Regions from separate parts of the Homo sapiens genome. Here all the other regions are linked to region 2. Evidence: promoter capture Hi-C in human tissues and cell types (Jung and others, 2019). All regions are on one chromosome and are shown on one strand. The core of a region is centred on a gene start or on the middle of the fragment in contact, and the rest is flanking DNA. Distances in the headings are between cores, read along the strand shown. Region 1 overlaps TYRO3 (TYRO3 protein tyrosine kinase). Region 2 holds the start of SPTBN5 (spectrin beta, non-erythrocytic 5). Region 3 holds the start of ITPKA (inositol-trisphosphate 3-kinase A). Region 4 has its middle 40 kb from the start of TYRO3.

Region 1 (6,081 bases), core at 824-3,323, 320 kb after region 2:
CTGGCAGATAGCACAGACAGCTGGCCCAAGATGTTCTCCAGTTCCATTCGCAGACAAGTAAAGCTCGGGCGCTGCTTGGGGTCAGCACTCCAGCACTGGTACATGAGATCATACCTGGGGTGGAGAGAAGCGTGAGAAAAGGCAGGAGCCCTTCCCTCAAAAGCAGGGGCCCCTTCATCATATGGCACTAGGGTTTTAAAAAATTTTATTCCCTGGTGGGGCACAGCGGCTCGCATCTGTAATCTCAACACTTTGGGAGGCCGAAGGGGGGTATTATTTGAGCCCAGGAGTTCGAGACCAGCCTGGGCAATATGGCAAAACCCTGTCTCTATAATAATACAAAAATTAGCCAGGCTTGGTAGACACGCCTGTAGTCCCAGCTACTCGGAAGGCTGAGGTGGGATCACCTTGGGAGGCCAAGGCAGGCAGATCACCTGAGGTCAGGAGTTCGAGACCAGCCTGACCAACATGGAGAAACCCCATCTCTACTAAAAATACAAAAAAAAATTAGCCCAGCATGGTGGCACATTCCTGTAATCCCAGCTACTTGGGAGGCTGAGGCAGGAGAATCGCTTGAACCCAGGAGGTGGAGGTTGCGGTGAGCCGAGATTGCACAATTGAACTCCAGCCTGGGCAACAAGAGTGAAATTCCATCTCAAAATAAATAAACAAACAAATAAATTAATTAAATTAAATAAATAAAAAATATATTTGTAGAGACAGGGTCTTGCTATGTTGCTCAGGCTGGTCTCAAACTCCTGGCCTCTAGTGATCCTCCCACCACAGCTTCCTGAGTAGCTGGGATTACAGGCACATCCTAGCTTATTATTTCTCACAACAACCCTATGAAAGCAATGATCAAATAGAAATCATTTCCACATTTACAAATGTGGAAACATGCACAAAGAGGTTAAGAACCGTGACTAAAGTCACACACGTGGAAAGTGACAGAGCTGTGATTTGAAGCGAGGGGGTTGACTCCGAAGTCCCTCCTGTGCTGAGTGGGCAGTACCTACTCAGTAATTCCTCACCGTGCAGCCGGACACAGTGGTATGCACCTGTAGTCCCAGCTACTCAGGAGGCTGAGGCTAAAAGATCCTTTGACCCCAGGAGTTCGAGACTAGTCTGGACAACATAGCGAGACCATGTCTCTATTAAAAAAAAAAATTAATAAGCAAGGTATGGTGGTAAGTACCTGTAATCCCAGCTACTAGGGAGGCTGGGCAGAAGATCTCTTGAACCCAGGGGTTTGATGCTACAGTGAGCTGTGATTGCATTACTGCACTCCAGCCTGGCTGTCAGAGCGAGGCCCTTTCTCTTTTTTTTTTTTAAAAAAAAAAAAAAAAAAAAAAAAGGAAACCTACTGAATCAGGCCAGGTGCAGTAGCTCATGCCTGTAATCCCAGCACTTTGGGAGGCCGAAGCAGGTGGATCACTTGAGGTCAGGAGTTCGAGTCCAGCCTGGCCAACATGATGAAACCCCGTGTCTACTAAAAAATACAAAAATTGGTTGGGCAAGGTGGCACACACCTGTCATCCCAGCCCTTTGGGAGGCCAAGGTGGGCAGATCACCTGAGGTCGGGAGTTTGAGACCAGCCTGATCAACATGGAGAAACCCCGTCTCTACTAAAAATACAAAATTAGCTGGGCAGGGTGGTGCATGCCTGTAATCCCAGCTACTCAGGAGACTGAGGCACGAGAATCGCTTGAATCCAGGAGGTGGAAGTTGTGGTGAGCCAAGATTGTGCCATTGCACTCCAGCCTGGGCGACAAGAGCAAAACTCCATTTCAAAAAAAAGAAAAAGTCCTCACTATTCATATATAACTTTTGAGTATCTGGAAAAAGCTTCCAGCTCTCCTGCCAACAGGAATTAATTTTTTTTTTTTTTTTTTTTTGAGATGGAGTTTTGCTCTTGTTGCCCAGGCTGGAGTGCAATGGTGTGATCTCGGGTCACCAGAACCTCTGCCTCCCGGGTTCAAGTGATTCTCCTGCCTCAGCTTCCCAAGTAGCTGGCATTACAGGCATGCGCCACCACGCCCAGCTAATTTTGTATTTTTAATAGAGGCGGGGTTTCTCTATGTTGGTCAGGCTGGTCTGGAACTCCCGACCTCAGGAGATCCGCCTCCCAAAGCGCTGGGATTACGGGCGTGAGCCACCGTCCCCTGCCAGGAATGCTTTTTTACATACAATTTCAGGAACCTTATAAATTCCCTGAAGCCTATCACTCAGGATGCCCAAGGAATGCCTCAGGCTCAGGTGGAAAAATAACAAACCAAAAACCTAATGGAAAGACGCTGAGACCAAGTCCAATGAATGCAAATGCCTGACTCTCTTGCCTATGCCCATGACAAGAGCCCCAAGCACTGCCTCACACACCAGCACACCCCCAGCAGGGGCCACCAGTAATGGCAGTAATCATGCCAGACACTGAACAGGTCGTGGGAATGGGAATGGTCTGGGGCCGTGGGTACATGGCCAGACTGGGACACGTCCTCAAGGCTGTGCTAGGAGCCAACTGGCGCCTGTCCACCAGGCTGCCTGGGTGAGGCCAGTGCCTGCCCACTCTCCATTGACAGCACCAGCTCCAGCTGGGGAGGAGGCTGCGCTGGGGTCTGGTCCCCACTGCCCTTCAGAGCTTCTACAGCGCCAGATTAGAACTGAAGCAGGCTGCAGCCACAGGGAGATGTGAGCTTCCTGCCCCTTGCCATGCCCTGAGCTCTGCTGAATGAACAGGAGGGCCAGGGCCTGGCTTGTCTACTCAAGATTTCCCTCTCAGGTGTAGGTGAGTTACCCACAGCCCAGGCTCAGGGCACTTCAAACCCACTGTCCAAGGGAAGGACCCCACCATCAGGCTGAGCCTTCCTGTGCCTGTCCATGACCTCGGCCCTCTGGAAGTCCAATCCCAGAGCAAGAAATGGAGCAGATTCTTTCTCTGGTCACAGTGGCTCCCACTCCCCCTGGGGCTCATGAAAGGTCCTCTGGGCTGGGCGTGGTGGCTCACACCTGTAATCCCAGCATTTTGGGAGGCCAAGGCAGATGGATCCCTTGAGCCCAGGAGCGCAAGACCAGCTTGACAAATATGGCGGAGCCCTGTCTCTACAAAAATACAAAAATTAGCCGAGTGTGGTGGCACGTGCCTGTAGTCCCAGCTACTTGGAAGGCTGGGGAGGGAGGATCACTTGAGCCCAGGAGGTTGAGGCTGCAGTAAGCAGAGATCACGCCACTGCACTCCAGCCTGGGTGACAAAGCGAGACCCTGTCTCAAAAAACAAAACAAAAAATACTCACAAAAGGTTGTCTGAAGGCCTAGGGAGCCCTTGGCTTGGATGGAGTGGGAGTGTAAGACTAGAACAGACAAATCACAGTTGTTGTCATAAAGAGTTAAGAGTATATATTCTAAAACTACAGGGATCTAGGTTCAAATTCCAACTTATTCACTTACTAGCTCTGTGACGTTGGCCATGTTACTTAATCTCTCTAATCCTATTTTCTCATCTACAAAGTGGGGATAAATAATAGTCTTTTCCTCATAAGGTCAGAGGAAGATTACCTGAAAGAATGCCTAAATGCCCAGCTAATGTCAGTGACACTTCCCATTATCTTGTCACAGGGTCTGTTATCACTGTAGCAAAGTGGGTGGTATCATTGCCTGCCCAGTCCCGAGGGCTTTGGGCTTGCAGAAAGAAGAGGAGGCAGTTCCCTTCTTCCCAGGATCTCAGTTCTTTATCTTAGATTCCCAAGAGAGCTCAGCCTAGGAAGTTTTCTTAGACTAGCTGGGGTCTCCAGGACAAAGGTTGTATTCACTAGGGTAGAACAAATAAAATAAAATAAATACAAATTAAAAAAAGAAAAGGAATGACGGGTGGGAAGATGGCAGGGAAACCTCCCACACTGTTACTCAGCACTGTGCCTTCTGCTCTTGGGGTTCCTGGTTCTCCTTACAAACTGGAGAAAAGAGACTGATAGACAAAGGCTAAAGCAAGAAATCTGGGATGGGAAAGGGGGAAAGAAAGAAAACAGGGAGGTGGTAGATGAACAGTGAGTATGAGGTGGAGTGCAGCCTTCCAACTACAAGGATGTTTCTATCAAAAAACAAAGGTCCAGTTGAGGCAACTGTGGTGGCAGCCATCAGCCAAAACTCCAGATTCCCCTTTCCTTCCAGAGCCCCCTTCCCAGGATACTCACACGTCCTCCATACACTCCGGAGGCTGTTTCAGGCGGTTCCCGCCAATGAGGTAGTTGTAAATCTCAGCGTTTTCGATGCCAGCATATGGCGTCTGCCCACGTGTCATGATCTCCCACATGGTCACCCCGAACGCCCACTGGGACAGAATCGAGGTTGGGGGAGAAGCTGTCACTAGGTGTCCTGAGCCAGGCAGAGAGCCATGGCTCTGAGACAAGCACAACCTGGGGCTCAGGGCCTCATCAGGGGGCAACCAAACCCCAGAGAGCAGACTTGGCTAGGCCCTTAAGGATCCTAAAGGTCTGCTCTCACACTCGTCCCCACCAAGCTTCACGGGCCACCCTGCTCACCACGTCACTCTGCACAGTATACAGGTTGTCGGCCAGGCTCTCCAGGGCCAGCCACTTGACAGGCAGTTTGGAGGCACAGCCTTGACGATAGTAGTCCCCACTGTAGATCTTCCGGGAGAGTCCGAAGTCAGCCACACACACTGTCATGTCCTCTGCCAGCCTACAAGGGGCATTGAGGGAGAGAGTCAGCCTTCTGCCATGCTCACAGGCCCACAAGAGCCAGGACATCTTTGCATCTTTGCTCCCAAGCTACCCCCATGCATAGCAGATACTGTCCCAGGCAGGAGCCGACCATCAGCTAGCTCCTCTTGGCACCTGCTGCTGTCTCCCACCCTCGAGTCCTCCAGAATTCGTACATGCAATTCCGAGCAGCCAGGTCTCGGTGGATGAAGTTCCGAGAGCTCAGGTACTCCATGCCGCAGGCAATGTCCACCATGAACCGGATCAGGGTCTGGAGGGGTAGGTTCTAGTGGACAGACAGGCCAAGCTCAGGCTTAACCTGCCCACCCAGCTGGGGCAGGATGGATGGGGGTCCCTGGCCAGAAAGCCTGAAGGCTGTCCCCAGAATCACTGGAAGGAAGGAAGGGGATGGAGGGCCTTCCCAAGGCAAGGAAGCTTCGGCTAGCCTAAGAGGGAGCCTGGAAGACGAGACTCCCCCACCCTGGGGCTCCACAAGTCCCTCCCTCTAGAAAGGGCCCTTGCCCAGCCTATATTTCTCAGCAGGGTTTTGTGAGAGAAAAGAAAGCCTGCTAGATTAAAAGGATTCAAACTCAGACCCCTCCTACTCCCACCCAGCTCCATCAGCCCTACCCAGCAAGCCCCTCTCTGCCAGGGTCTCTATGCCTTTCCAGGCCCTGTGTTCCCACCCGTTTCCTCCTGGCCACCCCCACACCAGGTACTCACAAAGGGGTTCTCCCCAATCCGGGAGGCGAGCAGGAAGGCATGCAGGTCCCCATGCTTCATGAAGGGCAAGATGACCATGGGGATGGGGAGACGGCCTTTAGCCCTGCTCCGGAGGCTTACCCCTGGGACAAGGGAGAGTCAGGAGCTGAGCATAGAAGGGTCAAGGGGCAGTTCAGGTGTCTGCATAAGTCCCCACCTGCTGGGTCCCATCTCTAGCTCTGGCTCTGCTATTTATTTTTTATTTTTTCACAGGCTCCACACTGGTCTGGGGACTACCCAGGAGGGACTCTGGCTGCTCCCATATCCCTGGAGCATCTTCTGTCCCCTTCCTTTCCTTCTCTGTCCACACAAGCAGTCTTTGTTTTTTCTGAAACAGTATCTTGCTCTGTCATCTAGGCTGGAGTGCAGTGGCGCAATCACAGCTCACTGCAGCCTCAATGTTCTGGGCTCAAATGATCCTCCCACCTCAGCCTCCCGGGTAGCTGGACAAAGGTGCACACCACCACACCTAGCTAATTTTTGTATACGTGTGTGTGTGTGTATGTTTTTTGTTTTGTTTTTTTTTTTTAAATAGAGGTGGGCTGTTGCTATACTGCCCAGGCTAGTCTCAAACCCCTGGCCTCAAGCAATTCTCCCACCTCAGCCT
Region 2 (7,119 bases), core at 1,818-4,317:
GCAGTTAATACGCAATGCTTCTATTTTTTTTCTTTTTGTAATCTTATTTAGAAGTTTCAAACAAAAAGACATAGTCTGCTGATCAATAAACATGGAGCTGCCCTCTCCCACTGGCTCATTTTCCAGTGGCTGCGTGCTGGCCTCTCGGAGCAGAGTGTGGATCCCTGGATCCAGGTTGAACCGGGGGAGAAGAGTTAGGGAGAGGGTGTGCCTGTGAGCCCCAACTCTTCCTGTGGAGAGAAACCCAAAATGCAGCCGCTTCAGAAGGAAAGCGGCCCCATCAGGTGGGGACAGAAGAGGGTAGGCAGCAGAGGCCAGGTCTGTGGACAAAAGCCCCACTTCAGAGTGGTTGGAAGCCAGGACAGGAGGGACTCATGGAGGTGACCGCTTCACAGGAGTCCTTTCTCCAGTCGTGCTAGGGAGGAGCCCCTGCCTGTCCAGCACTGCCCCTGCCTCTTGCTGTACCTTGCCAGTGTGCCCTCCCCCCGCCCACTACCATAGTAGGCATCTGGCTTTTCCCACCAACCCATCTACCTTTTTGGTGGTCCAGACCTACAGTCTCCTTGCAGAGCACTCCTCCTCCCACCCTCACTTCAAGTGAGGTTTGGATGAGATTGACCACATCCCCTTGGTCACAAATATTGGCTCAGGAATGGACATGTGGCCCTGTTCAAGCCTATGAGAGCCAGGACCCCCAGACTTATGTTAGAACTCTTGAGAGAGATACTCTGTCTTCTCTGAACCTTGCAGTATATAGAAATGAGCCTATTGATGCAACAATATAAATGGCACTGAGAGGGGTGTCCAGAGCTGCTGGGGTCAGGGGAGGGAGGTCAGCCTGGCAGAAGCCATCTTGTGGAGCATGAAAATGAAAGAGACCTTGAGAAAGGCCAGAGGAATCCAGGCCTGTGGTGACAACATTTGAGCTGCTGGATCAAACCTCACCTGAAGTCCTTCCTATTCCTACTAGATATTTTTTTCCACTGTGTGGGCCAATGCATTCCCTTTATACTGTGTAAGCCAGGCATGGTGGCTCACACCTATAATCCCAGCAATGCAGGAGGCTGAAGTGGGAAGATCGTTGAGGCCAGGAGTTCAAGACCAGCCTGGGCAACCTAAGAAGACCCTGTCTCTAAAAAAGAATTAAATATAAATAAATAAATAATAAAAATATAATGTTTAAACCAGTTTCACTTGAGATTTTAGTTACTTGCAACATAAATAATCCAAACTTTGTTCCGACCCACAGGGTTCTCATTTCACCAGGGGCTGCAATCAGTCGTGGCCAAACAGGAGCCAGTCCTTGCATTGTATGCAGTGGCTTTAGCTGCCGTTGAGCTAGAAAGGAAGAAAAGCAGTCCACAGCCCCCGCCAACAGCTTCAAAATGCCAATCCCTGTTGAGGTCTATGTGCGAAGCACCACGCAGTTCAGTCTGTCCTCCCCGCTCACAACATCACACAGGACTCCACGGGCCGAGCAGTTCAGTCTGTCCTCCCACGCTCACAACATCACACAGGACTCCATGGGCTGAGGGTCTTACTAGGAGAAGGAACAAGCTCAGTCTCCCTGGGGTAAGCGGGTGGGATGAGGGACTTCCTAGAAGAAACAGGATTTTAACTGGGGCAGGCAGGATAGGTGAATGTGGATGATGGAGAATGGGAAAGGACGTTCAAAGCTGAAAGAGCAGCTGAAGCCCAGCCTTGGGGCAGGAGAGCTCTGGTCCTGCTCAGGAAATGGTGAGTGGCCCATGGAGAGCACCCAGAGTGAGGGGGGCAGACTAGCCTGGTTAGGTAAGCTGGCAGGCTTCCAAGGCCTGGCTGAGGCAAGGTCTGGCAAGTCTGGATTTTCCTTCCCAGGCTGTGGGAGGCTTCACAGGCACGAGCAGAGCTGCACTGTGGAAAGGTGCGGGGTGGTGGTGTCCAGGATGCCGAGTTAGGGGGTCCGTGATGAGGACCCCCAGGGGCAGTGAGGGCAGAAGGGGGGGTGCACGGGAGGACCGCCACAGCAACTGCTGCGAGCAAGGGAGGGACGCAGGGTGTCTGGAAGCCAGCCGCTGCAGAAGGGGCCTGGCAGGGAGAGGACAGCAGGAGAGGAAGCGTCTCTCAGACGCAGGAAGCCGCACCCCACCCGAGACCACGGCACCTCTCAGCGTCACCCCTGACTGCCTGCAGTGGGCCCAGGCGGTTCAAGTGTGACTCATCCCTAGCCCAGCTCTCAAGGGCGCGCTGAGCGGCTGTCCTGCTGTGGGCTGTGGCTGCCAGGAGCGCCTCCCTGAGGAGCGGGCTGTCGCTTCAGAGGCTCCAGGGCCGCTGGAAGACACCCACACACACACACCCCAGCCCACACTGCTACCCTGAGTTTAGCCAGAGGCGGGTGAGACCCCCAGAATTAGAACTCGCCTTCACTCTGGCATGTAGTCCACGGCTGCTCGGGGAGGAAGGGATGGGCGCCCACCAGCTCCCTCTGCACCCCTGCCTCCGAGCCCCGGGCCACGGCCAGCTCTGTGGAGCCCAGAGTTAACACCGTGTCTCTAATTTTGGAGGAGACTCCACAGCCCTCGCAGTTCCAGGTCACCCCTTCCTCCAGGGAGCCTACCCTTCAGCCCCGGGCTAGGCAGGCTGCACTCTGGCAGGGCCTGGAAAGCCAAGCCCAGGGTCTGTGAGGCCCTCAGTCTATGGGCTGTTCCCTGGGGGTGAATGAGAAGACCACGGCCCAGGACGCTCCCTCATCCCCTCGCCCTGGGTGCTCACAGAGAGGCCCCAAGAGGGTACAGAGGGCAGTCTCAGATTGGGAAGTGCGTCCACAGGCTTCCCACAGAGGCTCTGCCCTTTGGTACCTCCTACGCAGACTGCAGCACCCCATGCGGTGGCAGGGCCGCTCCATGGGCCTCTGCGTCCTGGGAGCCAGGACCCCCACCTGGAGTTGGAGAAGTTGCTGGCGGGGAAGGGAGGATGATGAAGGAGGACATCATCTGGCAATGGCCCTGGAGCATTCCTGAACCACCCCCTCCCTGTCTGGGCCACGCCCTGTGGCAGGTGGGAGGACAATGCCGCCTGTGTGCCGTCACCCCAGCACGCTGGCTCAAGGGGAGGGCTGTGGTGCAGCCCTGCTCCAGCCTTGGCCTCTCCTGATGTCCCTCTCCCTCCCTCCACAGCCCCTGCTATCTGCCATCTCCATCCGTCCAGCTGGGCCGCCTCTGTGGAACCCAGGCATCACCAAGGTAAGCAGCCCCTGCTATCTACCATCTCCATCCGTCCAGCAGAGCCGTCTCTGTGGGACCCAGGCATCACCAAGGTAAGCAGTTTCCTGTCTTCCTTCCACCTGTCCCAGTCACTGTGGTGGAGGGACCTGGCAGCAGGGGCTCTGAGAAGAAGAATCTGGAAGGTGGGGTGGGGCAAAGGGGGCCCTGGGCCATTCAAGCACAGGGGACCAGAAGCACTGGCCCTTACCTGGCTGGGCTCCAAGCTGCAACCCCCATGAAATGTGAGGACAGTCTGGCAAGGCGGGACCCCAGGCCCCTGGTAGAGGGGCCATCTCCATTCACATCATCCCCTAATCTGCATGCCCTCCAGGTTTAGGGAGCCATCCAGCAGCTCCTCATCCCCAAAGTCTGCAGGGCTGATGGCTGGTCAGCCCCACAGTCCCCGGGAGCTCCTCGGGGCTGCAGGGCACCGCAGCAGGAGGCCCAGCACAGAACTCCGGGTCCCGCCCAGTCCAAGTCTCACCATGGACTCTCAGTACGAGACGGGCCACATTCGCAAGCTACAGGCCCGGCACATGCAGATGCAGGAGAAGACTTTCACCAAGTGGATCAATAACGTCTTCCAGTGCGGCCAGGTGAGTATAGCCAGCTGTGACCCACAGCCCACCCATACCAGGCCCCCAGCTCTGGCCAGTGGGCCTCCGGGGTGAGCTGTGGGGTCATCTGCCTGAGGCCAAGCTGAGGCCAGAGCTCCTTCTTCCAAAGCAGCTGCTCTGGGTCGTACCTCTCAGGTCCCAGGATGGGAGGACAGGTGAGGCTGGGCTGACCCCATACTTACCCCTGTCCCCTCCCCAGGCGGGCATCAAGATCCGGAACCTGTACACAGAGCTGGCTGACGGCATCCACCTCCTGCGGCTGCTGGAGCTCATCTCAGGGGAGGCCCTGCCACCCCCGAGCCGGGGCCGCCTGCGTGTGCACTTCCTGGAGAACAGCAGCCGAGCTCTGGCCTTCCTCAGGGCCAAGGTGGGCCCCAGGGAAAGGGGTCTGGGATGGTGCTGGGGCAGGCAGCTGGGACAGGCTGAACTACTGGGTCACCTTTCCTGCGCCAGGCCACTGGGCAGAACAGAGGAGCTGGGGCCTGAGTACAGGAGGAGTGGCTGGGACACAGAGGAGCAGAAGCCACGCCCTCCTCGCACAGCACCCCTGACTTGGAGAGCACCCAGCTGGCCATGGCAGTAGCAATCCAGGTCCCTACTGGGGTGGAAAATGTCACTGTCTGTCATAAGAGAGACTCACAGGATTCTAGGCCAAAAGAATCTTAGCGTTCTCTTAGGCTTTTCATTTCACAGATGAGGAAACAGAGGCCCTGAATTATTTACCAGGCAAGATCGATGGTTAACCAGCCAACAGAGCCCAGATGTGGGACTAAGACGGCAGGTGGGGAAGAGGAGCAGGGCCTGTCTTGGAGAAGGAGGGAGGAGGCCTCAGCAAATGGGGGGAGGCAGAGTCACCTGAAAGAAAGGGACAGGCTAAGGAGATGGGCACTAAAAGGAGGCCGGAGCTCCAGGGACAGAGGGACCCTCATGGCCAGGGTGAGGGGCTGGTGCAGGGGTGGGGTGGGGCAAAGGGATCATTGGAAACCGGGAACTGTGAAGGCCAAGGGCTCCTGGAGGTGGCTGTCCCTGGAGGCTGTGAAGTCACTGAGCTGGGCCTGGCTGGATGGAGCCTGACTGTGCGTGCCTATCACTATATCCTGGAGTGGAGCTTACATCCAGCCTCCTGGGGTGTGTTGGAGGAAAGCCAGGGAGGGGAGAAGCCCAAGCAAAGGGAATGGGAGTGACTGCTGTCCTGAGCAGGTGCAAGAGCAGAACGCTGCCAGCTGCAGAATGCTGGGCCCTAGTTGATCCAGGGACAATGACCCTGTGAGCCAGTCATCTCCCCTCCAGGAACTGGGGAAGGGTGTAAGCCCCACAGCCTTTGTCAGAGGTGTTGCAGCTCTCCCCAAGCTTTAATATACAGCATGTCACTGATACCTGTGAGGGTGACATCCTTGTCTCCATACACATAGGAGGCAACTGTGGTCTAGAAAGGATGACGGAGTTGCCGCAAACACACAGGGAATGTGTGGCAGAATGAGGGATGCATTCGCTTATGGAGATGCTCCCATGCCCTGGGCATTCTATGCAGGCGCTGGGCTCCACTAAGCAAAGCCCAGACCCCCACCTCAAGGCACCTGGCTTCAAAGGGAGACAGATTCATTGAACCCAGATCAGCGGTGTGCTGGTAAACGTTTAACAAATGATTCTCTGGGGGAAATAAAAACTCCAGTGTGCTGTATTCGCTGATCCTATGGCGTTAATACCCCCCATCACGGTGAGTTTAAGCCACCAGCGTGACATCGCTCAATAGGAAGTCAGGAGGATAGGCTCTCAGGAGCTGGGAGGAGCAGACAAACACCCCACTCACCAGAGGCTCCAACTCTAAGCCAAGGTGATTGACATGGCAGGTGGAATCCACCCCAGGAGCATGGGTGGGATCCTTTAGAGGCCAGCCAGATATACCAAAGTTTACCTAGGGGGACACCCAGGATTGCAGCTCCTCCCACAGGGCTAGTAGTGGCCGGCTGAAGCCAGTTGCCCTTCAGGTCTTATGGAAAGTCTCACTCCTTTTCTTTCTCCATTCAGTACTTACTGATCGATTGCCTGCTGTGTGCCACTCCCCTAGGATACACCAGAAAACAAAGCCAAGATCCTCACTTGAGCAGGGCAAGGGGATCGAGAGTGTGTATTTGGGTGGGAGAAATAGTCCTTAAGTTTCTGTGTTAAATAAAGTGGTCAGGCTAGGCAACATCTGAGTGAAGAGTTAAAGGCAGGGAGGTGAATAGCCATGCAGATACCTGGGAGAATACTTTCAGACAGCAGGCACGGCCCTGCAAAGGCCTGAAGTCCTGTGCTTAGAATCCCATGGAACTATAAGAATCCCATGGGCCTTGGAGCTATGTGATTCCACAGGGTGGAAGATGGAGCCACAGGGGGCTGGGGGCCAGATCCTGCAGGGCTTCTCCCCTTGACTCACCCATCCTCCCTGTCCAAATGGCAGGATGTAGGGCAGAGGAGTCTCAACTTTGGTGTACCTAAGAGCCACCCAAGGTGTTGTTCAAGTGCAAATTCCCAGGCTCTGGCCCAAGACAGTCTGACTGGGTGGAGCCTGGGAGTCTGGATTTATAGCTGGCCCTGTTGGAGCCGGAACAGAAGAAGAGGGCTGAGATTTGGGTGTGAGCCCAGGGACCCAGCCACCCCCTGAAGATCCCAGGACACCCTGGGAGATGGAGGCAGACAGTTGCTATTGTCTGTTGGGCTCACACATTGACTGTTATGACCCCTCATTTCCAAACCCTGCAGCTGAACCACTGATCTTGGCCCAGGTCTACCTGTAGCCCACACACAGGGAGTCCTCCTGCTCTGAGGGCCCAGCCCAGTTCACCAGGTTGGGGCTTCACCCAGGTGGGCTTGAGGCCATGGCTCCAACCAGGCAGGAAGCCTTTGCTTTCCTGGACTTATCCCCTGCCTGCTTCTCCCTGAGGGAACTCCCAGCTGGGGCAGGATAGATTCCAGGATGCTCCCATCCCGCAGCTGGCCCCCTAAGCTTTTGGTGACTGAGTCCTCTCTGGACATGGGCTTCATGGCTTAGCCCATCCAACTGTGCCCACAGGTGCCAGTACCACTCATCGGGCCAGAGAACATCGTGGACGGAGACCAGACACTCATCCTGGGACTCATCTGGGTCATCATTCTGCGTTTCCAGATCTCCCACATCTCCTTGGACAAGGTATGGCTCAGTCCCCAGTACCCAGCACCTGGTGACCCAGCCCAGCCCTGGCCTCACCTCAGACCCCTGGGGATTCATAAGTTCCACA
Region 3 (6,704 bases), core at 3,490-5,989, 400 kb after region 2:
CTTAGTGAAGAGGAAACTTGCCTTGGGTTAGGCAGGGTGAGGGAACTGAACCATCCTTTTAGAACTGTGCAGAAACAGTGAGGAGGGCTGGCAGGTGGGCCTGGCAGAAGAGGATTTGATGTGTGTCTAAAAACCTGGGCTACTACCATTTGATTGATGGACCTGCTCCCAAGCAGGGGTAAAATGGTGTCATCACCTACTCTCTTGACCTTGGTTTTCTGCATCTCATAAGAATCAAGAGCAGCAGCAACTAAGGCCAGTCCTAGCTAGCAGGTTACAAAATACTTTTTTTTTTTTTTTTTTTTTGAGACAAGGTCTCACTCCCATTGTCCAGGCTGGAGTCCAGTGGTGCGATCACAGCTAACTGCATCCTGGACTTCCAGGGTTCAGGTGATCCTCCCACCTCAGCCTCCAGAGTAGCTGGGACTACAGATGTGAGTCACCATGCCTGGTTGATTTTTTGTATTTTTGTATGTATGTATGTACATATTTATTTGAGTGGTGCGATCTCGGCTCACTGCTACCTCTGTCTTCCAGGTTTGAGCGATTCTCCTGCCTCAGTCTCCTGAGTAGCTGGGATTATAGGCGTGCACCACCAACGCCTGGCTAATTTTTATATTTTTAGTAGAGACGGGGTTTCATCATGTTGGCCAGGCTGGTCTCAAACTCCTGGCCTCAAGTGATCTACCTGCCATGGCCTCCTAAAGTGCTGGGATTGCAAGTGTGAGCCACCGTGACATTTTTTTTGTATTTTTAGTAGAGACAGGATTTTGCTATGTTGCCCAGGCTGGCCTCGAACTCCGGGGTTCAAGTGATCCTCCCGCCTTGGACTCCCAAAGTGCTGGGATTACAAGTGTGAGCCACTGCTCCCAGCCTACAAAAGATTTTCATACCTATTATCTCATCTGAGTCCTCCGTCCTACCACCTGAGGTTGCTATGACAGGATTTAGCCCCCCTGCCAGTAATGGGTATGGCCAAGCATGGCAGGAGTTGTGCAAGTGTCATGGAACTCAAATCACTGCCACCTTCCACCTTAGGGAGATACCTCCCCCAGAGAACATCACGCTTTTAAAAATGAATGTAAGCCCAGGCGCGGTGGCTGACACCTGTAATCTCAGCACTTTGGGAGGCCAAGGCAGATGCATCACTTGAGGTCAGGAGTTCGAGAGCAGCCTGGCCAACATGGTGAAACCCCATCTCTATTAAAAATACAAAACTTAGCCGGTGTGGTGGTAGGTGCCTGTAATCCCAGCTACTCGGGAGGCTGAGGCAGGAGAATCGCTTGAACCCGGGAGAAGCTTGAACATCCTCTGGCTCGGGCCTCCCTCCATGAAGGTGCCCTCTCTGGGAGACTAACACACAGCCAGAGGCTACCTGGGTATCTTGAGGCAAAGGCTAGGATTGCTGACTGTGTGAGAGACTTTAATGAAGTCACAGGAGGGCCCTCTGATAATTCCTCACTCCTAGGGCTGAACAGGGAGTACCTCTCTCTGGGCAGGGCTTGGCTGGATACTAGCCTCAGACCCTCCTTTGTCTAAGCTCCATTCGGAAGCCTTGAAGACACCTGCTCATGCCAGATACACAGTGTATCTTCTGCTGGAGCAGACCAGCAGGTGGGTGAGTGCTCTGTCTTTGGCACTCACCCTTGCTCCCTGCCTCCAGTCATCCAGGCTCTGGTTGAAGCTCTCTACCAGCCCAATACCCTCCCCATGTTCCAATTGCCCTATCAAACTAGCACTCCCTGTGGTCGTGGTGGTGGGAAGAGCAATCAGTTTAAATTTATAAAACGATTTGCACTAAGGTATAAGTGACCCACGACTTCACCTTCCCATGGGCATTAGCTGTTTAAAAAGGAAGTCTGTTAACCTAAATTCTGCTCTATAATTAGTGGAAAGCGATGTGTGGGAATTCTGAGTCCAGGAGGGGATGGCATCCAGGTCTCCTTACCTATCCTGGAGCACAGAAAGAAGAAAACCAGATGAACAGGAGCCAAACACCCTCTCTTTTCCTCCAGCAATACCCCACAATTGTTTGAGGAGGCAGGCAAGGCCATAGAGTCATGCAGCTGACCTTGCGGGTGGGCCTCCAACTTCTCCCCTGGCTGGTTAGGAAAAGCCTGCCTGTGACTTTTTCCTCTGCCGGAGTGAGGCTGCCCAGTTTCAATTTCCCTGCTCTGGGCAGGCTGGAGAGGGCTCCTAGGAGGTGAAGGGGACTACGTATGCCCCAGGCAGAGAGGTAGGCAGGCAGGCAGGCAGAAACTTCCTGGGCTCCGGCCTGCCTGGGCCGCGCGTAAGGGGCTGGTAAGCCGGGAGTCCTAGAGTCCGGCCCACGTGCATCCTTCACGGTCAGCCGGACCAGCCTTGCTTCCTGCCTGGGGAAGCCCTAAATTGGCCTGGGCCGGCGCGCTGTGCGGCTCTGGGACCTGCGGCGAGGCAAAGTCCGCCCTGGGCCCTTCCACACGGACTCAGGCAGCCTCTGTCAACAGCCCCTGGCTTATCTGCCGCCGCTGTGGCTGTTTGACTTCGGGGAGGCCCCGGCGGGCCTGGGGGTGGGGAAGGCCTGGAAGCCGCAGCCTTGGAGCTGGAAGGGCCCTCAGCGGCGATTTGCACCGGCTCCCGACGGCTCGGAGGGCGGCGGGGTCGCCCAGGTCCCCGAGGCTTGACCTTAGCCGGGGCGGTCTCTACACCCAGGCTTGGGCCGCAGGACCTCCTCCTAGCGCACTCCCTCTCCCAGGCACTTCGCCGAGTCCCTGCGGGCGGAAGAGGGAAGCGGGACGCGCCCGCGCTTCGCGCCCTTTCGCCTGCACCGGCTCTCAGGTGTCAGAGCTTCCGCGCCCCGGGAGCTGCTGCTCAGGCTTTTCCGAAGAGGCGGGGCGGGGGGCCTCTCACTGCCCCACACTCCACATCCTGGGAAGCCCCGGCATCCGCCCCCCGACCTAGGCAAGGGTTACCCCAGAAACGATCCTGGGTCCGGGGCTGCTCTGACCACCGGGGAAGAAGGGGAAGCGGCAGGCTAGTGACCGAGCCGGCGCACCCAGCACCTGGCGGCGGGGGGTGTTCCTGCTCTGTGAGGCTTTTCCCCTCTGGTGTCACTGACAAACCCCATCGGCCTCCGGGCTTGTGAACCCCTGCAGGTCGCCACAGCTTCCCTGCCTTGTCCCAGCCGATTGTGCGGCGGAGCAGGCGCGCGGCCACAGCTCTCCCCGCCCCGCCGCGCCGACCCGGACTTATGGGCAGGCCCCAGACGCCCGAGGCCGGGGGCGCCCCTCGCCTCTTCCTCGGCCTCAGGGACACTTGCGAAACGTGGATCTAAAGAAAGTCCTTCGCGCTGACCACGGACAGTTATTCAAGGTATTTGGCCTTGGTTAAAACGAGGGGAACAAGGAGGGTGTCCCGGGAGCCGCACATCCCTAAGTGGCGGGCGTCAGGAATGACTTAACAGTGCCCAGGGCTGTGTTTTCCGAGGGTCAGACCTGGTCCCAGAACACCCAGGCTATCAGAGGCAGAGACTAGCAGAGTGATCCTGCCCCCTTGCAGCCTCAGTTTACCGCCCCTCTCTGCCGCGCTCAGGAGCGGCGAGCCGGGAAGATGGGAGGCAGGGCGCGCACTGGGTGGGCTGCGTTCCGCTCCCAGCCAGAGCTCCCAGGCCCACGCCCCTCCCTCCCCTGCGTCCACGCCTCGTGCGGGCGCTGGGAGCAGACGGCAGCGGCTCCCGAGCAGAGCCTGGAGCGCCGCTCCACTCCCACTCAGGAGAGGGAAACCGTGGCAACGGCGGGGGTGCGGCCGCGGCACCGGAGAGGGGGCGGGGGGTAAGGGAAACTCTCCTTCGCCTCTCTCCTTCCGAGGGTTCACCCGGCAAGGCTCAGCCCCTCCGATCCCTCCTGTCCTAACCCACAGCCAACAAGGTCCGCTACCCCCGCTTCGCCCAGTCCCCGCGGCGGGTCGCCTGCTCCTCGCCCCGCTTCTTAGACGCCCCAGGGCCAGCGCCACGACCCGCCGGCGGAGCCGAGGTGAAAGTTGCCCAGGCGAGAGGTCGGCCAGGCGCCTCCCTCTGACCCCCAGATTCCTCCTAAACCGCGAGAACAGGACCTTCCGCTGGAGGGAGCATGGACAGGAGCGGGTCCTCCGGGAGCACCCAGCCAGGTCCCCCGTGCAGCCCCCGCGCCCGGCGCTGGCCCCGCCCCCGCGGCCCGTACCTGACCCACGTCCTCGCCCGCTTCCAGCTGCACGTTGCCGCGGCTCCGGCTCTCACTGTCGCTCAGCAGGTCGTCCTCCGAGTCCTCGAGCAGCGACGAGGAGCCAGTGGAGGAGACCGACGAGGTGGAAAGGCGGCGCGGCTGCTGCAGGTGCGAAGAGCCCGCTGCCGGGAGGCAGTCCCTCTCCCGCTCCGGCGGCCCAGGGCTGGTCGGGGGCACGTCGGGCTCCTCGGCTGTCACGGTCAGCTGAGGGATCACCGGGGCCGGGGGAGCCCGCGGAAGCCCGTTGGGGACCTGTCCCCCACGCCGCTTGGCCCCGCGGGCCCGGGGCTCCCCCGCGGCGGCGGCCGCAGCGACCGCCGCACAGCGCGCCTCGAAGAGCAGGCGCAGCTCCCCGACACTCCGGCGCGGGGCCCGCTCCAGCCCCGGGCTGCAGGGCCTCGCGCCCCCCGGCCGCGCCATGCCCGTTGGGCCCCCGGGCAGGGTCATTTCCCAGTGCCGGCGCCGCCGCTGAGCCCACCAGCCCGCGGCGCGCCGGGGACTGGAGCGGCTCGGCGCCCCCGGCTGGAGACGGCCCCGGGGCGGAGCCTGCGCCGCTGCACGCCCGCGCCCCGCCTCGGCCGCGCCCCCCGCCCACTCCTTCCACTTTCAGAGAAAGCGCGGGCCTCCCAGGGCCCCTGCGAGGGAGAGAAGGCTCTCGGTGACTCCTCGGGGTGGCGGGGAAGTCCAGCCTCCGTAGGCACAAAACCTGGGCCCGGGCCCCGAGGCTTCGCTCCGCCTGCCCTCGGGGAGGTGGGAGGGGCCGCTCCGCGCTGGGGCCTCGCAGCCTTCCCGGGCTTCGCGGCTGGGAGAGATTCCTCCAGGCCGCTCCACAGGCCCTGTCCCCGCGCAGGAGAAGCTGGTCCTACTCTTGGTCCCCTACCCCGTTCCTCGGGTTCCTTTGCGTGTTCATCCCTCCCGGGCAAGGGCTTCAAGTCTCGGGGCCTTTCTCCGGCCCGAGCTCCTGAGCAGAGTTGAAGGCCCCCGGCTTCCCGAAGAAGCCCCACCCCAGGGCGTGCACCCAAGTGGAGACTCTGCCCCAGGGACTAGCTGAGGCTGCTCCCCGCAAGTTCCCCACTTCCCGGCGGGCAGAGAACAAGGTCAGGGGGCGGGGCCTGGATCTGTCCCCATGGCCCAGCCTAGTCCCGGGCTGCATCTCCCCCGCTGCTGGGTGGCAGGAGCTGAGCCCGCCTTCCTCCTCCTCTGTTATAGGAGCTCGGGGCTTGGAGTCCGCCGTGTGGCGTTCAGCAAGTCATTTCACCTCCCTCGACTGCGGATTCTCCCGTTGCTGCGAGAATAAAATAAAAGACTTGAAATCAGGTACACCACACTCTAGATGTGATTTGTAGGCAGTCCCTTTACTCCCTCCGTATATTTCTGCATTTGTACATTTAGAAAAACCTCATCCAACCCACAGAGTTGTGTCTGTAAAACTAGGAAGACAGCACTGATGTTTAAGAGTTTCAGACACTGCAAAGTGCTTATCAGTGTCATTCCATGTGGATCTTCGGCCACTTCCCATGTTGGTAGTCAGCTGACCGACCGGCGAGGCTGCTTTGAGGAGAAGCCACTGTTTCCTATCTTACCATAGTGCCACAGGAGTGAGGGTCCCCCCTCAGGCACTCAGTGTCTGGGGATGGCTGGGGCCCTGGAGACAGAGCAGCCCCAGAAGGATTGCCTTGGATGCTGAGATGGCCGCAGGAGGGGCTTTCCTTCCCTTCTCTCCCCTCAGCCAGGGCTCAGGAATGGCCCAGGAGAAGGAAAGAAGAAGGTTCAGTGGGAAGACGGGAATCTTCGGCAAAGCATAGTGGCTCAGGCTTGTAACCCCAGCACTTTGGGAGGGCAAGGCGGGCAGATTGCTTGATCCCAGGAGTTCGAGACCAGCCTGGGCAACATGGCAAAACCCTGTCTCTACTAAAAATACAGAATATTAGGCAGGTGTGGTGGTGTGCACTTGTAGTCTCAGCTACTCGGGGAGAGGCTGAAGTGGAAGGATCACTTGAGCCTGGGAGGTCGAGGCTGCAGTGAGCTGAGATCACCACCACACTCCACCACCACACTCCACACTCTAGCCTGGGCAACAGAGTGATAACTTGTCTCAAAAAAAAAAAAAAAAAAAAAAAAAAAAGCTGAGTGTGGTGGCATGCACCTGTGGTCCCAGCTACTTAGGAGGCTGAGGTGAGAGGATTATTTGAGCCCAGGAGGTCGAGGCTGCAGAGAGCCATGACATTCCACTGCACTGCAGTCTGGGTGACAAGTCATACGCTATCTCAAAATAAACAAATAGGTGAAGATCCTGGAGAACTGAGGAAGGAAGCAAAATAATGTAAGAAAGAATGGCAATGAGAGAGGCAGGAGAAATAGAGGGAATGAAGGGGTAAGAGGAAGAAGGGCATAGAGGAGTTTGAATACTTGACTACTTCACGGAGAACCTGGGAAATCACATCGCCACCTTCTCTAGGACAACCA
Region 4 (6,276 bases), core at 2,573-5,072, 300 kb after region 2:
CGGCAAGCGGAGGTTGCAGTGGGCTGAGATCACTCCACTGCACTCCAGCATGGAGCGAAACTCTGTCTCAAAAAAAAGGAATTTCTGAAAACATACTAATAGCATCCTCTCTGACTATCATACTGAGGAATGGAAAGTTTTTGTGTTAGGGAATGCAATTTAATCCTAGATTATGGCCATCACAAATGATACTTATAATTTGCATTATACAAAGCTCTCTTATCAATGAAAGCTGATTTAATCTTTGTTGTATTCTAGTGAAAAGGCCAGAGAAGGGTCTTAACCCTATTTAACAAATACAGAAGAAGATTCAGAAAATATCTATGATATATCCAGAGTCAACCAGGCCAGGAAAGGATAAAAAGCAGAATGAAAGGAGTGAAACCCCAAGAAAGAAAGCAATGAAGTGAACTCTGCCCTCAGAGAAGCTGTGAGCATCTTAACAGCTATGATGTATGGGACCCTTTGCCAGGATTAAGGGAAAAAAGTGGAGCAAAGCCACTCAGTTCTACTCACCTCCCCAACTCTTAACCCCTCGACCAGGTTGCAGAGGCAAAAGAAACCTGGGAAGGTAGCCCACAGGTCTTCCCAGGGATGGGGACCATGGAAACACCAGCCTTTATTATTAATCAAAACTGCAAGCTTCCTTCCTTCCTTTTTTTTTTTTTTCTTTTTTTTTTTTTTGAGATGGAGTCTCACTCTGTCCCCCAGGCTCACTGCAACCTCCGCCTCCTGGGTTCAAGCGATTATCCTCCCTCAGCCTCCGAGCATCTGGGATTACAGGCTCCCCCAACCACACCCAGCTAATTTTTGTATTTTTAGTAGAGACAGGGTTTCACCATGTTGGCCAGGATGGGCTCGATCTCTTGACTTCATGATCCGCCTGCCTCAGCCTCCCAAAGTGCTGGGATTACAGGCATGAGCCACCATGCCCAGGCTTCCTTACTTTTTTATGCATATTTGATGGGTCACTATAAAATGTTAACCAGGAACTCAGGCTAATACCATCACATAGGCTGGATTTCCAGTTCAGGTCATGGGCAGGCCATGCTCCTTGCACCATGGTCCTTACCAGTCTTGCTGGAGGTCAAGCTGCCCCAAGGAATGAAGATGCTGAAAAAGGTCTGTCTCCCTTCTTTTTTTTTTTTTTTTTTTTTTTGAGATGGAACCTCGCTTTGTTGCCCAGGCTGGAGTGCAGTGGTGCGATATCCGCTCAATGCAACCTCCACCTCCCAGGTTCAAGCAATTCTCCTGCCTCAGCCTCCTGAGTAGCTGGGACTATAGGCACCCGCCATCACGCCTGGCTAATTTTTGTATTTTTAGTAGAGACGAGGTTTCACCATGTTGGTCAGGCTGGTCTCGAACTGCTGACCTCGTGATCTGCCTGCCTCGGCCTCCCAAAGTGCTGGGATTACAGGCATGAGCCACCGCACCAGGCCCTGTCTCCCCTCTTGGACCCTGGCATGCAGTAGGTTGCTCCTGTGTTGTAAAGGAAAGATGATTCTTGGATGAGGCTTACCTCTGCTAAGTAAGCCCTGAAGAGTGCAGAAGAACACCACCACTGCAACATCCTTGGACTGTGGTGGCAGGAGACACTATGTGTGATGGGAGGCAGTGTGACAGTGTGGCTAGCATTCAGTCCTGTCTAGGAAAGGAAAGAGAAATAAAAAGCTTGAACACAAAACAAGTACCTCAAGTGCAGGCTGTGGGAGAGAAGGATATCTGGGATCTGGTGCCAGTGAGGGGGCCAACTGGCTGGCACTGAGCCTGCTTAAAGGTGTCTCAGACATTTGGCCAGTGTGTTTCTCAGAGCTGTGGTCACAAAAGATGGACTCTTCCCACCCAGAGGATGCAAGGACAGCACACTGTGTCTTTCTGGCCATTGGATCCTCTCCCTTTCCCCAGGCAGCTTGCCTGGCCTCATCCTCTGAGTGATGAGTGAGAACCCCCACTGCCCTCAAGGACAACACAAGGTCTTACCCAGAGCCCAAGAGGGGAGGGTGCCAGCAGGTGCCCAGGAGTGGGGCCCTAGCCCAAGTGGAGCTTTCCTGAAGGTGCATTCCTGAAGGCCACATGGTAGGCAGTCAGCCAGAGCAACTCTGTCCCCTCCCCTCTTCCCATCTTATATGTATTCAAACCAGGAAAAATGTGACAGCACATGGGCAGCCTAGGCAGTGAATAAATGCCTCAGGCATCCTCTTGCAGCAAGTGTCTCTATATGTTATGGCTGTTTCCATCTTACATTTCCTTGAATGTTTATATTTCTTTCTGTCTCTCTCTTTTTTTTTTTTTTTTTTTTTGGTTTTGTATTTGTTTGTTTGAGATAGGGTCTCACTCTGTTGCCCAGGCTGGAATGCAGTAACGTGGTCTCAGCTCACTGCAATTTCCACCTCCCAGGCTCAAGCCATACTCCCACCTCAGCCTCCAAGGAGCTGGGACTATAGGAACACACCACCACACCCAGCTAATTTTTTGTACATTTTTAGTAGAGACAGGGTTTCGCCATGTTGCCCAGGCTGGTCTCAAACTCCTGGGCTCAAGCGATCCACCCACCTTGGCCTCCCAAAGTGCTGGGATTACAGATGCAAGCCACTGAGCCTGGCCAAATGTTCATATTTCAATAAACCTCTACCTCTTCTCTCTCTCTCTCTCTCACACACACACACACACACACACAGAGAGAGAGAGAGAGAGAGAGAGAGAGAGAGAGAGAGAGAGAGAGAGAGAGAGAGAGAGAGAGAGAGAAGGCTGGGCATGGTGGCTCATGCCTGTAATCCCAGCACTTTGGGAGGCTGAGATGAAAGCATCACTTGAGGTCAGGAGTTCGAGACCAGCCTGGGCAACATAACAAGACCTCATCTCTACAAAAAATTTTAAAAATTAGCCGGATCTAATGGCACACACCTGTAGTCCTAGCTACTTGGGAGGCTGAGAAGGGAGGATTGCTTCAGCCCAGGAGGTCACGGTTGCAGTGAGCCATGATCATGCCATTGCCCTCCAGCTTGGGTGACATAGCGAGACCCTATCTCAAAAATAATAGTACATTATCAAGAGTAGAACTCTGTATTTCTGCCTTTCCCTCCCACCCTCACTCTCCTTCTGCTGCTGCTGTTGCCATTTGCTTTTTTCTCTTCCCTCAGCATCACTCACTTCCTCTCCCTTTTTCGCATGAGTCTTTTTCTCCCCACTCCTCCTCCTCACTGTTTTCTTCCTGTGCTCCTAGAAGAACCAAACAGTTCCATTTTAGGGACTCTGAACCCCAGTGGAACAGGATTTGGTTGGCTGACCTGGGGAGTGGAAGACATCATAGAAAACCACATTGATATGTTGGGGCCGGTTAACCTGGACTGGTCTGGACTTTCCCTGCTGTCCTATTGGCAGCAACTCAGAGAGTCCAGATGGCCCTAGAAAAATCTGTGGTCCAAGGATACAAAAACAGAATTGCTTTTAAGCCCCTAGAAATGCTGAATTGCTGTTTATGGACTCTGGAATAGAGCTGAAGCTGGGACCCTCTAATAGCTGAAATGTGACCTAAACTTACAGGGGTACAGTGTGGCCTCACCCAAGGATCACTGGGCATAGTCAGGAGCTCCTTGAGATAATGCTGATGGGAGGAATATCCATACTGGGAATGAAGACTCGGAGAGACATAGACCACCTCTTGGCTGGAGGCAGGAAGAGGACAACCCGCCCAAAAGGAGAAATATGGTTCAGGGAAAGCTCCTATATTCCCCAGCAAACGGGACAGTTCTGGGCTGAGTACGTCACACATTTGTACTCTTGCACAGTGCCAAAATGCTGTCCTAAGTCCAGTGCAATGGAGGTAAGCACATGCACACATCTTCTTATGGAGAAAGATGCCCCTTCTGACCTTGGGAGCTGATTACATTCTGGTTTAACATTTGCTTTAAAGCACTGTAAAAGGTAACAGTGTGTGGCCAGGCGCGGTGGCTCACGCCTGTAATCCCAGCACTTGGGGAGGCCGAGGCAGGTGGATCACGAGGTCGGGAGATCGAGACCATCCTGGCTAACACGGTGAAACCCTGTCTCTACTAAAAATACAAAAAATTTGCCGGGCGCGGTGTTGGGCGCCTGTAGTCCCAGCTACTCAGGAGGCTGAGGCAGGAGAATGGCATGAACCTGGGAGGTGGACTTTGCAGTGAGCCGAGATCACGCCACTGCACTCCAGCCTGGGCAATAGAGCGAGACTCCATCTCAAAAAAAAAAAAAAAAAAACACAGTGTGGCCAGGTGTGGTGGCTCATGCTTGTAATCCCAGCACTTTGGGAGGCCGAGGCGGGTGGATCACCTGAGGTCAGGAGTTTGAGACCAACCTGGCAAACATGGAGAAACCCTGTCTCTACTAAAAATACAAAATTAGTTGGGTGTGGTGGTGCATGCCTGTAATCCTAGCTACTCGGGGGGCTGAGGCAGGAGAATCGCTTGAACCCGGGGGCGGAGGTTGCAGTGAGCCAAGATCGTGCCATTGCACTCCAGCCTGGGCAACAAGAGTGAAACTCCATCTCAAAAAAAAAAAAAGATAACAGTGTGACCATGTGGAGTCTGTTTTCCCCTTGCCCAGTCCATAATGAGTAGATATTTGTGGCTAAGAAAAGGGATTACGGCAGTGAATGGCCATGAGCCAGACAGGAGCCATGTTAGTTGCCAGTCTTGGGATTAGAGCAGAGGAATTGCCAGAGCAGCTAAGGGGAAGATTATCTAAAATACCAAGAGGGAGAATAGTTTTCTTACCCAACTTACAATGAGAGTATAAGCATCTGGGCTCCCTAAAGACAAGCCACATGGTCAGGGCACGGACAAAACAGTGACCAGCCTGACAGCAGGACCCTCTAGAGAAGATAAGATAGATGTTAAGTTAGGCCAGGCCCGATGGCTCACACCTGTAATCCCAGCACTTTGAGAGGCCAAGGCCACCCTGGCCAACATGGCAAAACCACATCTGTACAAAAAATAGAAAAATTAACCAGGCCTAGTGGTGCTTACCTGTAGTCCCAGCTACTCAGGAGGCTGAAGCAGGAGAATTGCTTGAACCTGGGAGGTAGAGGTTGCAGTGAGCCAAGACTGCACCACTGCACTCCAGCCTGGGTGACAGAGTGAGACTCCATCTCAAAAAAAAAAAAAAAAAAAAAAGATAGATGCTAGGTTAGAATAATTCAGTAGGGAAATCTGACTTCGTTAAAAAACTTACTCTAAGAAGAATTTGACAGGAGACATGATAGAGGCAGAACAATCCTAGAAGCACAGAGTTAAGAAGGAACCTAAAGAACATTTAGAGTCTTAAAAAAAAAACACAAACAGGACTAGGATCCACTGGATGGAGTGGCTACAGGCAGGGTGAATCAAGCCGAAAAGATAACAGATAGGGACCAGTAAAGGAACTCCTCTTCTGGCAACCACAGCAAAGAGCAAAGGAGGTGGCTAGCTTCTGTAGGATCAGAAGCCCGAAGCCAAGGAAACCCACTTATGGGAGATTCAGATAAGACCTAGCATAACACAGTCTCTAACTCTGGGACACAGAACCCAGCTCAACGTATAATGGGAAGGACTTGGGTCCCAAGCATGACAGAGGAGTTCTTGAGCATCCAGGAAGAAAAGTAGCTAATGGAGCCTGGTCTTCCCAGAACGGAAGGTGACACAGAAAGGATGAGAAGAGAAGAAACTCACAGTTGGTGTCAGTCTTCCTGAGGCTTTTGTGTGATCTGGGAAAGCGTTGTCCATAAATCAATGCCAACAAGCCAAGTTTGTTTTAACTCTTATCCTATGGCTATGTCCAAACCTGACCCCTCATCTTTATTAAAAAAAAAAAAAACACTTTAGCACCACCCCAGGAATTCCATGTTATTTAAAATATGAGTGCCACTGGTCCCAGCACTTTGGGAGGCTGAGGAGGGTGGATCACAAGGTCAAGAGTTTGAGACCAGCCTGGCCAACATGATGAAACCCTGTCTCTACTAATACAAAACTTAGCCAGGCATGGTGGCACATGCTTGTAGTCCTAGCTACTCGGGAGGCTGAGGAAGGAGGATCACTTGAACCTGGGAGGTAGAGATTGTAGTGAGCCGAGATCATGCCACTGCACTCCAGCCTGGGTGATAGCTTGAGACTCCGTCTCAAAAAAACAAGCAAACAAACAAAAAAAAACGCCGGTCGAGGTGGCGTGGCTCACGGCTGTAATCCCAGCACCTTGGGAGGCTGAGGCAAGCAGATACCTCAGGTCAGGAGTTCGAGATCAGCCTGGCCAACATGGTGAAAACCC

The links. The method cuts DNA at HindIII sites, captures the fragments that hold promoters and counts their contacts. A contact is called where the count stands out against the background at its distance.
Region 1: a contact is called between a fragment that was not itself captured here and the fragment with the promoter of SPTBN5 in region 2, in 1 of the 25 tissues and cell types used here (IMR-90 fibroblasts).
Region 3: a contact is called between the fragment with the promoter of ITPKA here and the fragment with the promoter of SPTBN5 in region 2, in 4 of the 25 tissues and cell types used here (IMR-90 fibroblasts, heart left ventricle, mesenchymal stem cells and 1 more).
Region 4: a fragment that was not itself captured here is called in contact with the fragment with the promoter of SPTBN5 in region 2 in 1 of the 25 tissues and cell types used here (mesenchymal stem cells).

What each region holds. Positions count from the first base shown.
Region 1 is chr15:41,571,919-41,577,999 of GRCh38, reverse strand. TYRO3 (TYRO3 protein tyrosine kinase) reads right to left here. Exons shown (of 19, transcript NM_006293.4): 15 at 5,436-5,557; 16 at 4,889-4,998; 17 at 4,533-4,692; 18 at 4,185-4,321; 19 at 1-114. Among named protein-coding and RNA genes, the nearest start is that of TYRO3, 16 kb to the right of the region's middle. The HindIII fragment of the contact is 5,513 bases long and covers 1-4,829 here.
Region 2 is chr15:41,890,001-41,897,119 of GRCh38, reverse strand. SPTBN5 (spectrin beta, non-erythrocytic 5) reads left to right here and starts at 3,067. Exons shown (of 68, transcript NM_016642.4): 1 at 3,067-3,221; 2 at 3,574-3,838; 3 at 4,059-4,226; 4 at 6,915-7,031. The coding sequence starts at 3,623. It overlaps LOC105370792 (a long non-coding RNA gene), which reads right to left and starts at 4,343. Exons shown (of 4, transcript NR_135681.1): 1 at 4,042-4,343; 2 at 1,784-1,893; 3 at 1-1,540. It overlaps EHD4 (EH domain containing 4), which reads left to right. Exons shown (of 6, transcript NM_139265.4): 6 at 1-1,187. RefSeq lists enhancers at 4,223-4,282, 5,476-6,351. The HindIII fragment of the contact is 14,752 bases long and covers 1-6,029 here.
Region 3 is chr15:41,491,909-41,498,612 of GRCh38, reverse strand. ITPKA (inositol-trisphosphate 3-kinase A) reads right to left here and starts at 4,739. Exons shown (of 7, transcript NM_002220.3): 1 at 4,197-4,739. The coding sequence starts at 4,685. RefSeq lists silencers at 4,120-4,169, 4,280-4,459, 4,480-5,099 and enhancers at 4,836-5,336, 5,337-5,837. The HindIII fragment of the contact is 23,030 bases long and covers 1-6,704 here.
Region 4 is chr15:41,596,356-41,602,631 of GRCh38, reverse strand. No RefSeq gene overlaps it. Among named protein-coding and RNA genes, the nearest start is that of TYRO3, 40 kb to the right of the region's middle. RefSeq lists an enhancer at 6,168-6,276. The HindIII fragment of the contact is 5,329 bases long and covers 1,158-6,276 here.